2 separate regions of the Homo sapiens genome follow, and region 2 is linked to region 1. The links are contacts of gene promoters, found by promoter capture Hi-C in blood cells and fetal thymus (Javierre and others, 2016). All regions are on one chromosome and are shown on one strand. Each heading gives the region's core, a stretch centred on a gene start or on the middle of the fragment in contact. The rest is flanking DNA. Distances are from core to core; before and after follow the strand shown. Region 1 holds the start of DEFB1 (defensin beta 1). Region 2 overlaps MCPH1 (microcephalin 1).

The links. Contacts are between HindIII fragments. The CHiCAGO score rates a contact against its expected background, and 5 or more counts as called.
Region 2: a contact is called between a fragment that was not itself captured here and the fragment with the promoter of DEFB1 in region 1, in 1 of 17 cell types (monocytes). The highest score is 6.9, in monocytes.

The regions. Positions count from the first base shown.
Region 1 is chr8:6,875,153-6,882,084 of GRCh38, forward strand. It overlaps DEFB1 (defensin beta 1), which reads right to left and starts at 2,784. Exons shown (of 2, transcript NM_005218.4): 1 at 2,645-2,784. The coding sequence starts at 2,705. The HindIII fragment of the contact is 13,732 bases long and covers 6-6,932 here.
Region 2 is chr8:6,421,450-6,428,381 of GRCh38, forward strand. All of the region lies in intron 3 of MCPH1 (microcephalin 1), which reads left to right. Among named protein-coding and RNA genes, the nearest start is that of MCPH1, 18 kb to the left of the region's middle. The HindIII fragment of the contact is 247 bases long and covers 3,904-4,150 here.

The DNA of each region.
Region 1 (6,932 bases), core at 1,534-4,033:
GGATAAGCTTTTAGAAGACAATATTGGGGACTATCTTCATGTCTTTGATGTAAAGAAAGTCTTCTTAAACAAGATAGAAAGTGCAGTAACCTTACGGAAAAAGACATGACACATTCGACTACATTGAAATCATGATAAAAGCCTCTTTTCTAGGAAAGTTTCCATTAAGAGAGTGAAAAATCAAAACACAAAGCAAGAGAAGATATTTGTGATGTATATAATTGACAAAAGGCTTGCATAGAAAATACATAAAGAACTACAAACCAATAAGAAAAGACAGATAATCCAAAAGAAAACATGGACAAAAGACAAACAGGTATTTTACAAAAAATAACCCAGTTGCCTGTAACTATGTATAAAAGGGCCCAACTTATTATTTATCAGGGAAATGCAGATTAAAACTCCAGTGAGCTATTGCTACACTCACCAGGTGGTTAAAATTTAAAAATAATTGATGTTATCAAATGTTGGCAAGGATACAGAGCAAGAGGAACTCTTATTCACTGCTTGTGGGAGTGCAAGTTGGTGTAAATAATCTTGGAAAACAGTTTGGCATTGTCCAATACAATTGAATATATGCATAGCCTATGATCCGGTGATGCAACTTTTCAGCATGTAGAAATAGAGGCATAAGGGCACCTACTGGCCAATAGAAATGTGTGCACAAACCAAGCTGTACTATTCAACCTGAATATTAATTAGTGTGGCAAAAGTGTAAAGAATATGAAAAGTTACCACCATAAAAGTCAAGTGAGTGATTATTCTTGGGGGTAGGAGGGAGTTGTGACTGGGAAGGCTCGAGAATAGCTTCTCATAATTCAATTTAGATATAATAGACTGAAAACAAAAATTCTTTATGTTAACAAAGTGCCTTTCAAACCCTTTTGAGTTTGGACTGAACCACCATCAGAAAGAAATTTCTCACTGCTACTCAGTAAAAACATATGCACACACCCCAAACTGAAATATGGGTGTAATTAAATAGCATCTACTTTTACTACATGGCATGAAGTAATATTTTCTATTCCTTTAAAAAAACATGGGCTGGGCGTGGTGGCTCATGGCTGTAATCCCAGCACTTTGGGAGGCGGAGGCAGGCGGACCATGAGGTCAGGAGTTAAAGACCAGCATGACCAGCATGGTGAAACCCCGTCTGTACTAAAAAATACAAAAATTAGCCAGGCTTGGTGGCATGCACCTGTAATCCCAGCTAACTCAGGAGGCTGAGGCAGGAGAATTGCTTGAACCCAGGAGGTGGAGGTTGCAGTGAGCTGAGATTGTGCCATTGCACTCCAGCCTGGGTGACAGAGCAAGACTCCATCTCAAAAAAACAAAACAAAACAAAACAAAAAAACACGGTAGGCTGAGTGGAGTGGCTCATGCCTATAATCCCAGAACTTTGGGAGTCTGAACTAGGAGGGTTGCTTGTGCCCAGGAGTTTGAGACCAGCCTGGTCAACACAGTAAGACCTTATCTCTACGAAAAAATAAAAATAAAAAAATTAGCCAGGTGTGGTGGTGCATGCCTGTAGTCACAGTTTCTTGGGAGGCTGAGGTGGGAGGATGGCCTGAGCTCAGGAGGCAGAGGCTGCAGTGAGGCGAGATCACACCACTGCACTTTAGCCTGGGTGACAGAGTGAGACCCTGTCTCAAAAAAAAAGCAAAGCAAAAACAAAAACCAAAAACCAAAAACCAAAAAAAAAAACAAAAAAACAAAATCCATTGTAGCAACTGGCAGCATGAAAAGTTCTGCATTTAGAATGCTTTTGTACTCAGCTTTCAGATGGAAAAACTGAGGCATAATTGGAATAAATTAAGCCTATCTGCTGGATACAGTGATGGCCTAGAGAAACTTACAATAGGATCTTACAGAGACTTTCTGAACTGGAGTGCTTGCTTTCAGGATCATCCTTCCCAGCCCCTCATTCTGCAGATGAATAAACCAAGGCTTAGCACCATGTGACTCGTGTGAACAAGGATAGGGCTGGGATAAAACATGTTCCCGATTCCTCCTGCACGTCCCACCATCATGTCAGGGTCATGGCTGCTTTGGCCCAGAGAAGCTGACATACACCTGGCTCACAGGAAGCCCCCTCCTATTGACTGGGGAGACTGCTAACCTGGAGAATGTGGATGCATTTCTCAGGAGAGGGAGAGGACCGCCTGCCTGCACAGGAGGTGAGTCCAAGGCACCGGCTGAGCTGGCCTGATGGGTGGGGCGGCAGCACCTCACCTGTACCAGGGCACCCCAGGAGGCTGCACCCAGTGACGTGGGCTGAGGATGGGGCCGGCCCCTCTCTCTGCATAGGAAGCTGGCCTCTCAGTGTGAGGAGTCGTCTTGCAGGGGAAGCAGCAATCTCATCCACATAGGATACTGTCTACATGTCCAGGACAAGGATGCAGGCAGCTGCCTGTGACAAGCGCCATGACCCTGCCAGGCTCACTCCTTGGCGGCTCACAGACCCTGAAGGCTTGGCAGGGCTTGCCTGCTGCCTTCTGCCAACTGCAGGCCACTCAACCACGGGATGCTTTCCTGCTGCTTGTTCCTCGTCCCTTGGGACACGGAGGCAGCCATCCGAGACTCACATCAGCCCCATTGTCCCCAGCCCTGGGGATGGGAAACTCTTGCAGGTACCAGAGCTTACCTGAGGCCATCTCAGACAAAAGTAAGCAGAGAGTAAACAGCAGAAGGTAGGAAGTTCTCATGGCGACTGGCAGGCAACACCCAGGATTTCAGGAACTGGGGAGACGCTGGCTCCTTTGGAGGCTGAGCTGACAGAGGCTTCCAGAGGCTGGAGCGTCACTGTATTTATAAGACTGGTGGATTGCACAACCTCGTCGACGGAACTGAAGGGAGGTGCCACAGTCAAGGGTGAACTTCTAATCGCTAACCCCTGGTGTCATTTGCCCTGAGCAGTCAGCAGTCACATGGCACATTGTCTCCATCTGGCTGCCGCTGGATTTAGCTTTCAGCCTGGAGCCCTGGTGCCAGCTCCTCCTGTTTGGTTTTCTAGGTTAGGCAGTTCTGATGGGGTTTCTGGAACAGGCAGTTCACACTGGAGTCCCTCCTTCTGGATCACATGGAGGAGAGCCACAGGGAAGCTCTGAGCAGGGGGCCGCTCGGCTCTAAGCTGGTGTTGGCCTCTTTAGTTTGATTGTCTTCCTGCAAGACAAACTCAAACTTCACCCTCTTCCCTTGCAGAAGGAGAGCTGGTTGTAATGAAGTTTCTTCCTCTGGCCAAGGCTACCTTCTCATCTCTCCCCTTATGCAGAACACTCTCCTCGATGGACCAACTTTTCTCTTTTCCCACTAGACGTGTTCCTGGGACGTTTCCAAAGGGCACTCCTCAGAAAGTGAGCCCCCAGTGTGGCCCTTGGAGGGTGAGGGTCTGGGCCAGCCTGGGCCCACCCTGCAGAGCTACAACTGCCAGATTGGGGTGCTGTTAGCGACTCTCCAAGTATCCCTCAGGTTTTCCTTGATTCTAAAGATTTAAGAAACATTTTATTTATTACTGATTTTCATTGTAATTCTGTGAGCAGCTTTCCTGATGTCTCAGTGGCTTATTTGCAAGCAGCAGACGCTGGCTCTCGCTGACCAAGGAAGGGAAGAGTTTATTCGGAGGATATCAGGGTTGGTGGGGGGTGGTGGCATTGCTGGAGAACCCAGCTTGAGGCTCAGTTTCCAGGAATGACATCCACCCTACACTGTCACGGTGGTCCAATGAGAACCCCATACTGCAGCCACATGGCATGAGACACCCAGAGTGGAGTGACCCTCAGCCACTCTACCGCTGGCAGAATGCCATTCTGCACCCAAACATGAACCTGCCGTATACTCCCACTTCAACCCTGCCAGAGAAAGACAGAGAGAGATCCAGAAAGATGGACAAACAAAAACAGAGACAGAGGAAGAGACAGAGACATGCAGAGAGACAGTAGAGAGACACAGAGAAACAGAGAGATAGAAACAGACAGAGAGAGATGGAAATAGAGAGAGAGAGAGAGATAGAGAGAAATAGATTCAGAGAGACAGAAAGAAGGAGACAGAAAGATGCAGTGGGATCCTGTAGCTAGCTCATTGAGGCAGTTCACAAAGGGTGTTTGGGAGAAAACTTGGAAGAGGCTGAGCCATGCCTGACCTAGGAGCAGTGAGATTGTGGAAAGAGAAAAGAAAGAACCGAAACACAGCTTTCCTTGCTGGTGCTGGGTAAGACATGGCTCAGCCTCTTCCAAGTTCCTCCCAAACACCGTCTGTGAACTGCCTCAATGAGCTAGCTACAGTATTCTATCGGATCTGTTTCTGTCCCTTTCCTTCTGTCTTATTGAAGCCACACTATGATTCTTTGACCAGGCAATATAATCCTCATGTTAGAGAAGAAAAACACTGGGGTTCAGAGAATTGAAACAAATTGCCCAAGGTCACCCTGCTGGTAAATGGAAAACTGGTGTAATGGCCTGGAAAGCCTCATTCCCTAGCCTCTGTGCTGACCGCCTCCTGGGGAGGCTTCCAGGTTATTACACCAGGTGTGGGTTCAATAAGATTGTGAAAGAAAAATATCTCAGGCACCTTCAAGCTGGGAACTGCTTATTGCGAATCTGCCTCTTTTTCTATTCAAGTCATCTTTTTGCTCCCAGAGATACATGCGTATTTCGATTAACTTTTTTGGAAAGACTTATAATAAATTCAAAAGAATGCAACCGGTCAGGGCGCAGTGGCTCACGTCTGTAATCCTAACACTCTGGGAGGCCGAGGCGGGCAGATCGCCTGAGGTTAGGAGTTCGAGACCAGCCTGGCCAACATGGTGAAGCCCCGTCCTTACTAAAAATACAAAAATTAGCTGGGTGTGGTGGCACACACCTGTAATCCCACCTACTCAAAAGGCGGAGGCCGGAGAATTGCTTGAAACCAGGACACATTGGTTGTAGTGAGCCGAGATCGCACCACTGCACTTCAACCTGGGTGACAAAACCGCACTCCGTCTCAAAAATACAATAAAAAGAATGCAACTGTCTGTCTCTCACATACCTGTGACCTGGAAGCCCCCAGTGGTGGGGGCCTTGCTTTGAGCTGTCTCTGCCTTTCTGGACAGAACTATTGTACTTCTTATACATTGATTGATGTCTCATGTCTCCCTAAAATGTATAAAAGCAAGCTGTGCCTTGACCACCTGGAGCACATGTTGTTAGGATTTCCTGAGGCTATGTCAGAGGTACATCCTCAACCTTGGCAAAATAAACTTTTTAAATTAAATGAGACCTGTCTCAAATTTTGGGGGTTTACAAGATAATAAAGTAAAAAATCTCAGAATGCTGCCGGGCACCATGTGAGGTCCGATGGTGTCTGTAGATCCTGGGAGTGAAAGGAATCTAAACCCTGGAATCCTGATTTTCAGGACTGATGTTTTCTGCTCTGAACCTGGAAAACTTTTTTTCTAAATTTTATTTTTATTTTTTATTTATTTTATTTATTTTTTTATTATACTTGAAGTTCTAGGGTACATGTGCACAACGTACAGGTTTGTTACATATTTATACATGTGCTGTGTTGGTTTGCTGCACCCATTAGCTCATCATTTACATTAGGTATTTCTCCTAATGCTATCTGTCTCCCCTCCCCCTACCCCACAACAGGCCCCGGTGTGTGATGTTACCCACCCTATGTCCATGTGTTCTCATTGTTCAATTCACACCTATGAGTGAGAACATGCGGTGTTTGGTTTTTTGTCCTTGTGATAGTTTGCTCAGAATGGTGGTTTCCAGCTTCATCCATGTTGCTGCAAAGGACATGAGCTCATCCTTTTTCATGGCTGCATAGTAGTCCATGGTGTATATGTGTCACATTTTTCTTAATCCAGTCTATCATTGATGGACATTTGGGTTGGTTCCAAGTCTTTGCAATTGTGAAAGTGCTGCAGTAACATACGTGTGCATGTGTCTTTATAGCAGCATGATTTATAGTCCTTTGGGTATATACCCAGTAATGGGATGGCTGGGTCAAATGGCATTTCTAGTTCTAGATCCCTGAGGAATCGCCACACCGACTTCCACAATGGTTGAACTAGTTTACAGTCCCACCAACAGTGTAAAAGTGTTCCTATTTCCTCACATCCTCTCCAGCACCTGCTGTTTCCTGACTTTTTAATGATCGCCATTCTAACTGGTGGGAGATGGTATCTCATTGTGGTTTTGATTTGCATTCCTCTGATGGCCAGGGATGATGAGCATTTTTTCATGTGTCTCTTGGCTGCATACATGTCTTCTTTTGAGAAGAAACACTTTGCTTTTTAAGGTTACATTTTCAGGATTTCAAGCATCCTGTGAGGGTGCTAGAAGAAGGTCATTTTAGTCCCAGTGTCCAGGGCATCACCCTGTTCCGCTCACGTCCATCAACAGGGTGATGCTGGAGAGCAGAGCTCACTCCTGGGCGCTCTTGAGGAGTGAGGCGTGGTAGCCAGCTCGGAAGGCATGGGAGCCCGGGCGAGATGATAAGGAGGCCAGGTCCTGTGCCATGTGCCCAGGAGAAACCACATACAAGCAGAATGCAGCATCTACTTTCACATAAATATTGCAGTGAGACTGGCCAGAGTCCTGGCTTCATCACTCACAATTGACCAAAGTGTGGCCTTTGTGGGTGGGCGCTGACTAAGGAGACTGATGGGGGCTGTGGTGGCAGAAAGTGCACAAGCCTTTGACAGCCCAGGGATGAGGCTACTGACCCACCTGTGATGAATGACAGTCTAATGGAGGAAATGACACCCGGGATGAGGTTGTAGAGCAGATGGGGGCCAAGTAGATGAAAGTGTGGTGGGAGGACCACGGACATCTCAGGAGAGCAGGGACCAAGGCCTATATAGGAGATGCATGCGTGTGTGTGTGGTGCATTAAGGCTTATGTGTGGTTTGCATTTAGGCTCATATCTTTGTGTGCGTGTGG
Region 2 (6,932 bases), core at 2,777-5,276, 450 kb before region 1:
TAGCAGAGAATGGCCAACTATCATCCCCCAGCCAAATCCACCCTGCCATACTGTTTATTTTTTTTTAATGGCCCATGAGGTAAGAATGGTTAAGAGAAAAAAAAAATTCAAATGTTTACTATTTCATGATATTTACATTATATGAAATTCAATTTTAGTATCCATAAATACCGTTTTATTGGAACACAGGCATGTTCATCTGACGATGTAGTCAGTGGCTGCCTCTGTACTACAGCTGTAGATTTGGATCCTGTGGCAGAGACCTTACGGCCCACGAAGCCTAAGGCATTCACTACTTTCCCCTTTACAGAAGTTTGCTGACCCAGGTCCAGTGTGCTGCATGATGGTCCCCTTCCCTTCCATTGTCAGCTGCTCCCCTCTCCCTTGTTTGCGTCTTCCAAATGCTCTGGGCTTCCACGTCCCCAAGGCTACACTCTTTCTGCCTTTAGTTCTTGGCCTGTGCTGAGAACTCTGCCCCGTCTTCCTGATTCTAAACCCAGTTTTGTAGTCAGCTCCTTTATACATGTTGCATTGCAAGGTCGCTTTATCAGAAGAGCTTCCTCTGTCCCCAGTTCACAGTTCAAGCCCTATTTGTTATTCTCTGTCTCAGCTCCTTTTTTCCTGTGTGTACTATTAAAACTTATTTTGTTCATTTGACTGCTTTATCTGTCTGTGTATCTAATCATGCATTTTGTCTTTCTATTGTAATGTGGATTCCAAGAGCAGCTACCTGTCTGTCTTATTTATGGTTGTGTTTCTAGTAAGTCTAACATTCATCTGGCTCATAGTAGATGCTCAGTAAATATTTGTTCTAACAAATTATGAACAAAGGAAAATTTAGTTAAGTGGCGTAGAGATACTAGAGAAAATATCATGGGGGAAAATGATTTGAAAAAAAACTACATTTTAAAAGTCGTATAGAAATGTGGAGGGGAGAGTGCAGAAACAGAGACCTTTACTAGAAGCTTGAAGTAAATGGAGATGCATGGACAAAATTAAAATAGTAGCCATTTCTGTACCTAATAGGGCCTCTCAGCTAACCCTACAATGGGGATGGTCACTGGTAGTGTGTTCTGCTGAGAGTTAGGGATTCTTACTCTGCTTTGCTGGCCCAGCCCCTGACTCATTCTCTATCCCCTTTCTCTCTCTCTCTATTTCTGCCCACCACTAACCCCAGCCTTTCTCAAGGGGCTCATGCAGACCCCATAATACTTGTAACTTCGTTATCCAAAAGCAAAGTTTTCTTTTTCTTTTCTGGAGACTGAGTCTCACTCTCTTGCCCAAGCTGGAGTGCAGTGGTGCGATCTCGGCTTACTGCAACCTCCGCCTCCTGGGTTCATGCCATTCTCCTGCCTCAGCCTCCCGAGTAGCTGGGACTACCGGAGCCCGCCACCACGCCCGGCTAATTTTTTGTGGTTTTAGTAGAGACGGGGTTTCACTGTGTTAGCCAGGATGGTCTCGATCTCCTGACCTTGTGATCCGCCCTCCTCGGTCTCCCAAAGTGCTAGGATTACAGGCGTGAGCCACTGTGCCCGGCCAATTTTTATATTTTTAGGAGAGACAGGGTTTCACCATGTTGGCCAGGCTGGTTTAACTCCTGACCTCAGGTGATCCGCCCACCTTGGCCTCCCAAAGTGCTAGGATTACAGGTAAGAGCCACCGTGCCTGGCAAAAGCACACTTTTAAGGTCCTCAGAAGCTCAAAAGTGAACTTAATCTTTTGGCATTTTTCTTTTCTTTTCTTTTTTTTTTTTTTTTTGAAACTGAGTCTCGCTCTGTCGCCCAGGCTGGAGTGCAGTGGTGCAATCTTGGCTCACTGCATTCTCCTGCCTCAGCCTCCTGAGTAGCTGGGACTACAGGCGCCCGCCACCACGCCTGGCTAATTTTTTTGTATTTTTAGTAGAGACGGGGTTTCACCGTGTTAGCCAGGATGGTCTCCATCTCCTGATCTTGTGATCCGCCCGCCTCGGCCTCCCAAAGTGCTGGGATTACTGGCATGAGCCCCTGCGCCCGGCCCATACACTTTAGTCAACTTTTTATTACAGGTCATTTTTTTGCCTGTACATGCAGATGCATCCCACTTTATATATATAAGAATATTTTGTAGTAGCTGTCCAGTAATTTATGTAAGCAGTGTCCTATTGGTGATTGAAGTTTTTCATTTCTTAGTTATTTTTTTCAATTAGAAATATTACAGCATTGAGCTTCTGTATGTATTACCTTTTTGCGGGTGATAAATCTTTCCATAGGTTTAAATCCCCAAAGTGGGCTGTTCATTTCTGAGAGTTTACATATTTAAATATGATAGATGCTGCCAAATTATCTTCTGGAAGGAGTGTACTGGTTTCCATTCTCACTGGAATTATCAAAAAAATGCATGTTTCCCAATACCTTTGCTAATGTTGTGAGTTATCAGTTCTTCTTTCTAATTTGTAGAAGAAAAATAATAGTTTTTATTTGCATTTCTCTGACTTTTAGTGAGCTTGAATTTTCTTCAGCAGAGCATAGAGATAAGAGCCAAACTGACCTGCATTTTTTATGTCACGTCTGTCCTTTCTTGGTGAACTGCCTGCCTTTCCAATGCAGTAGCTCATGGTTTCCACTGAAAATGTGAACATTAACTTCATAAGGTCACTAGGTGTCACTAGAATCCCATTCTGTTGGGTTCCTTCTGGGAGTGTTCATTTTAAGATCAGATGGCAATTGATAAAATTCTGACATTTCCTTTGGATGTAGAAATTTTTACCTTGAAGAAAGAATACATAAAGTTGAAATAAAGGTCAGCTTGGCCCCCACTCTAAGTTCTGTTGAAGACAATTTATCATTTTTAAACAACTGCAAACTAACAGCTAGGTGGGGAATACGGTTCACAGGCTTTGTCCTTGCTAGGCTGAGAGTTGGTTGCTGACCGAAGGCCATCACCCCCTGCATTTAGTGTTTGCTGGAAACAGGGACATATTCCTGCATAACCACAACACAGGCCGACATTAGGGGCTTACCACGGCTCCTTTCCTCCCGGAATCCTCAGACTCCATTCCTATCCTACCAGCAGCCAGCTCCACTTCCCGCCTCCTCAGCCTTCTCACCCTGCAGCCATTCCTTAGTCTTTCACTGGCTTTTGTGACTTTGACACTGTTTAAGGTCACTGACCAGTGATAGGAACGTCCCTCAGTTTGGAACGGTCTGATGTGTCCTCCTAATATCACATCAATGTGTAACAGTGGATGTGTAGCCATTTAGGACTGGGCAAATTACTCAACTGCTGGGCTCTAGGTTCCTCCAGTAGCTCCTGAGTTAACTTCCTACGGTTATTTAGTGCTAGACCACAGAAGTTCGCTCTCTGCTGGCAGAGCACTGTTGTGCAGACTTCTCTGAGTCTCCTGTGTTCTTCCTTGTGTGTCAGGGACACACGTGAAGGATAGCGTGCTTCGCGGCTGGAATCTTCAAGGAGATGCCATTCACTTTTTTACCTCACTAACACAGTGCCGTTTACAAAAAAGATTAATGTACTTTTCCTGAATTGACTTACTGACTGGGCCTAGAGAATAAGATACTGGTGCTGGGCAGTTTGGCACAAGAGTAGCATAAAGAATGCAGGATTGGCCCAGGTGAAGGCATCGTCCTAAGGGTAGAATGAGAGTCGGTGGTTCCTGGCCGACCTAGCAGGTGTACTGTGGGAAGTGCTGGAGTGAATCGGCTCTCTGGGGAGAATAAGCTCATCACAGCACGGCTTCCCGAGGAGAACGTTGCTGCTTTGATTTCTGTTGGCTCTGAGGCAGCAGCAGGTCAAATAGTTGGTTCTCTGTTTAGAGACATCTCTTGAAACACTTTTCGTTTTGACCACTAGATGGTGGGATAATGTTATCATTTTACATTTCTGAAGAAAAATAGAAATCTAACTGGAAGCTTTTTTGTCTGTTCAGTAGATTTTGGTTGGACCCCTGGTAAACATGGGTTTCAGTGTAGCAGCTTTAATGTGTTACCACGTGTGCTAAAGCATAGCTGTTGGCATGCAGAACGGCATTACCAGCAGTAAGTGCCACTTACTTCTTCATAGTGAGTGATGATAGTTACACCCAGGTAGATGAAATTCAGGGAGAGCATCTCTGTGCACCTTACATCTTATCACTCTGAAGGATATGTGGTTGGGAAGCTTCTCCCAAAGGAACAGAACACATCTTCCACAACTGTATAACCTATGTCAGGCACACGTTTTCCTGGGTTGAATCAAGCCCTTCCTTAAACTGCTAACTTAAAGAATACTTACTGGTTTTGTAAAGTTTGGCAAATGATCTTCTCTGCTCCTCGGTTTTCTGTGTTGTGCAATAGGAGGCAATGGTAGTGGCTTTTCCAGCACGGTTGGTGTGAGGCTTCTCATGAGCTGGGTGACCTTTGTCCTGATGATGGTGGTGATTTTAATACTGTGTATTTGATAACACGATTATCTAGGGTCTCCTCTACGTCTTTCGTCCAGATGCATCTCAGCCACCCCCCTTTTGCTGTTCCCTTAGGCATAATAGTGGTAAATCGGTGACATTTTGCTTGAGTAAGAAGAAGCTGCTAAAAACTTCTCATGCTTAAAATTGGTAATTAAGGGGACTTTTTAAAAAGAAGCACAGTTAAAAAACATTTCCTTCCTCGTTCTCTTCCACCCGCCTCCCTTTCCCATCACTTTTATTAGATACAGCATTCTGCTCACCCCATTATTGCAGGCTCAGATAGTTGGTTTGTTTTTTTAAAATCAGCTTTATAAAAACATTTACATAAAATAAAATGGACCCATTTTAAGTGTACATTCACGGGTTTTTTGTGTATACCTGTGTCACCACCACAACCAAAATACAGAGCATTTTCATCACCCCAAAATCTCCTTCGTGTCCATTTGCTGTCGGCCTCCCTGCCCCCTCCTCCCACCCCAGGGCAGCCACAGATCTGGTTTCTGTCATTAAAGATTAGTGTCACCAATTCTGGGGCTTCAGATCAGTGGAATCATCCAGCGTGTACTATTTTGTGCCTGACATCACTGAAGGTGATGTTTTTGCGATCTGTCCGTGTTGTTTGTAGCAGTGGTTTCACTTCCTTTTATAGCTGAGTAGTATTCTATTGTAGGCATGTAGCTTGGTGCCACCAGTTGATGGAGATTGGGCTAGTTTGCCATTTTAGGTTATTATGAATAAAGTTACAATGGACATTTACATTTGTGTCTTTGTATGCTTTCATTTCTCTTGGGTCATTACCCAAACTTTTCCAAGGTGGTTATGGCACTGTATATTCCCACCAGCAGTGTTCCTTTCACTCCACGTCTTCACCAATAGTTGAAATTTATCCATCTTTTGAATTTTAGCCATTCAAGCAGATGTGTAGTGGTATTTCATGGTTTTTTTTTTCCCAACATTGTTTTAAGATCTAATTCATATGCTACACAATTTGTCCAATTAAAGTATACAATTCAGTGGTTTTAAATATACAGTCAGGTATTGCTTGACGACAGGGATGCCTTCTGAGAAACGAATAGGTGATTTTGTTGTTGTGGAGACATCACAGTGTGTATTAACACACACCTGCATGACATAGCTACTGCACACCTAGGCTCTGTGGCACAACCTGTTGCTCCTAGGCATAAACCTCTACAGCATGTGCAGTTGTGAAACAGTGGTAAGTATTTGTGTCTCTGAAATACTTAAACATAGAAAAGGTAGAGTAAAAATATGGTATAAAAGATAAAATATGGTACACCTACATAGGGCGTTTACTATGAATTGAGCTCGCTAGACTGGAAGTTGCTGTGGTTGAGTCGTTGAGTGAGTGGTGAGCGAATGTGAAGGCCTAGGACATTACTACTATACAGTACTATGGACTTTATACACGTCATACAGTTAGGTTACACTGGATGTATATTTTTTGGAGCAACTGTATTAACTGATACTATAACGTTTTTTTAAAGACAAGGTCTTGCTTTGTCTCCCAGGCTGGAGTGAAGTGGCACATTTATGGCTCACTGTAGCCTCAACCTCCTAGGCTCAAGCAATCCTCCTGCCTCAGCTTCCTGAGGAGCTGGGACTACAGGCGTGTGCCACTATGCCTGGGTAATTTATTTTTATTTTTATTTTTGTAGAGACGGCATTCTTGCTACGTTGCCCCCACTAGTCTCCAACTCCTGACCTCAAACAGTCCTCCTACCTCCGCCTCCCAAAATGTTGGGATTACACATGGGAGTTATTGCACCCGGCTCCTCCCATAAGTAAATAATCTATCTCTCTGTTACTTGTGGTGGGAGGAAAAGAAAAAAAACACCTAGGTTATGTATAATACCTAATACGAGTACTTCGTAAGTAGTTATTATACTGTTTTTTTTTTTTTTTGAAACGGAGTGTCGCTCTGTCGCCCAGACTGGAGTGCAGTGGCGTGATCTCGGCTCACTGCAACCTCTGCCTCCCAGGTTCAAGCGATTCTCCTGACTCAGCCTCCTGAGTAGCTGGAATTACAGGCACGCACCACCACGCCCGGCTAATTTTTGCATTTTTAGTAGAGACGGGGTTTCCCCATGTTAGCCTGGATGGCCTTGAACCACTGACCTCCCGCCTCAACCTCCCAAAGTGCTGAGATTACAGGTGTGAGCCACCACGCCTCGCCTATACTGTATTTTTTTTTTATTTGGCCTTACTATAGCTTTTTTACATGATAAACTTTGTAATTTTTTAAATTTTTTTACTCTTTTGTAATGCCTTAAAATACATTGTACAACAGTATAAAAATACCTTATATCTTTATCAGCTTTTTCTATGTTTTAATTTTAATTTTTACTTTTAAACTTAAAAAAAACTAGGACACAAAGACACACATTAGCCTGGGCCTACACAGGGTTAGGAACATCAGTATGTCGCTAGGCGATAGGAATTTTTCAGCTCCATTATAATCTTATGTGATCACTGT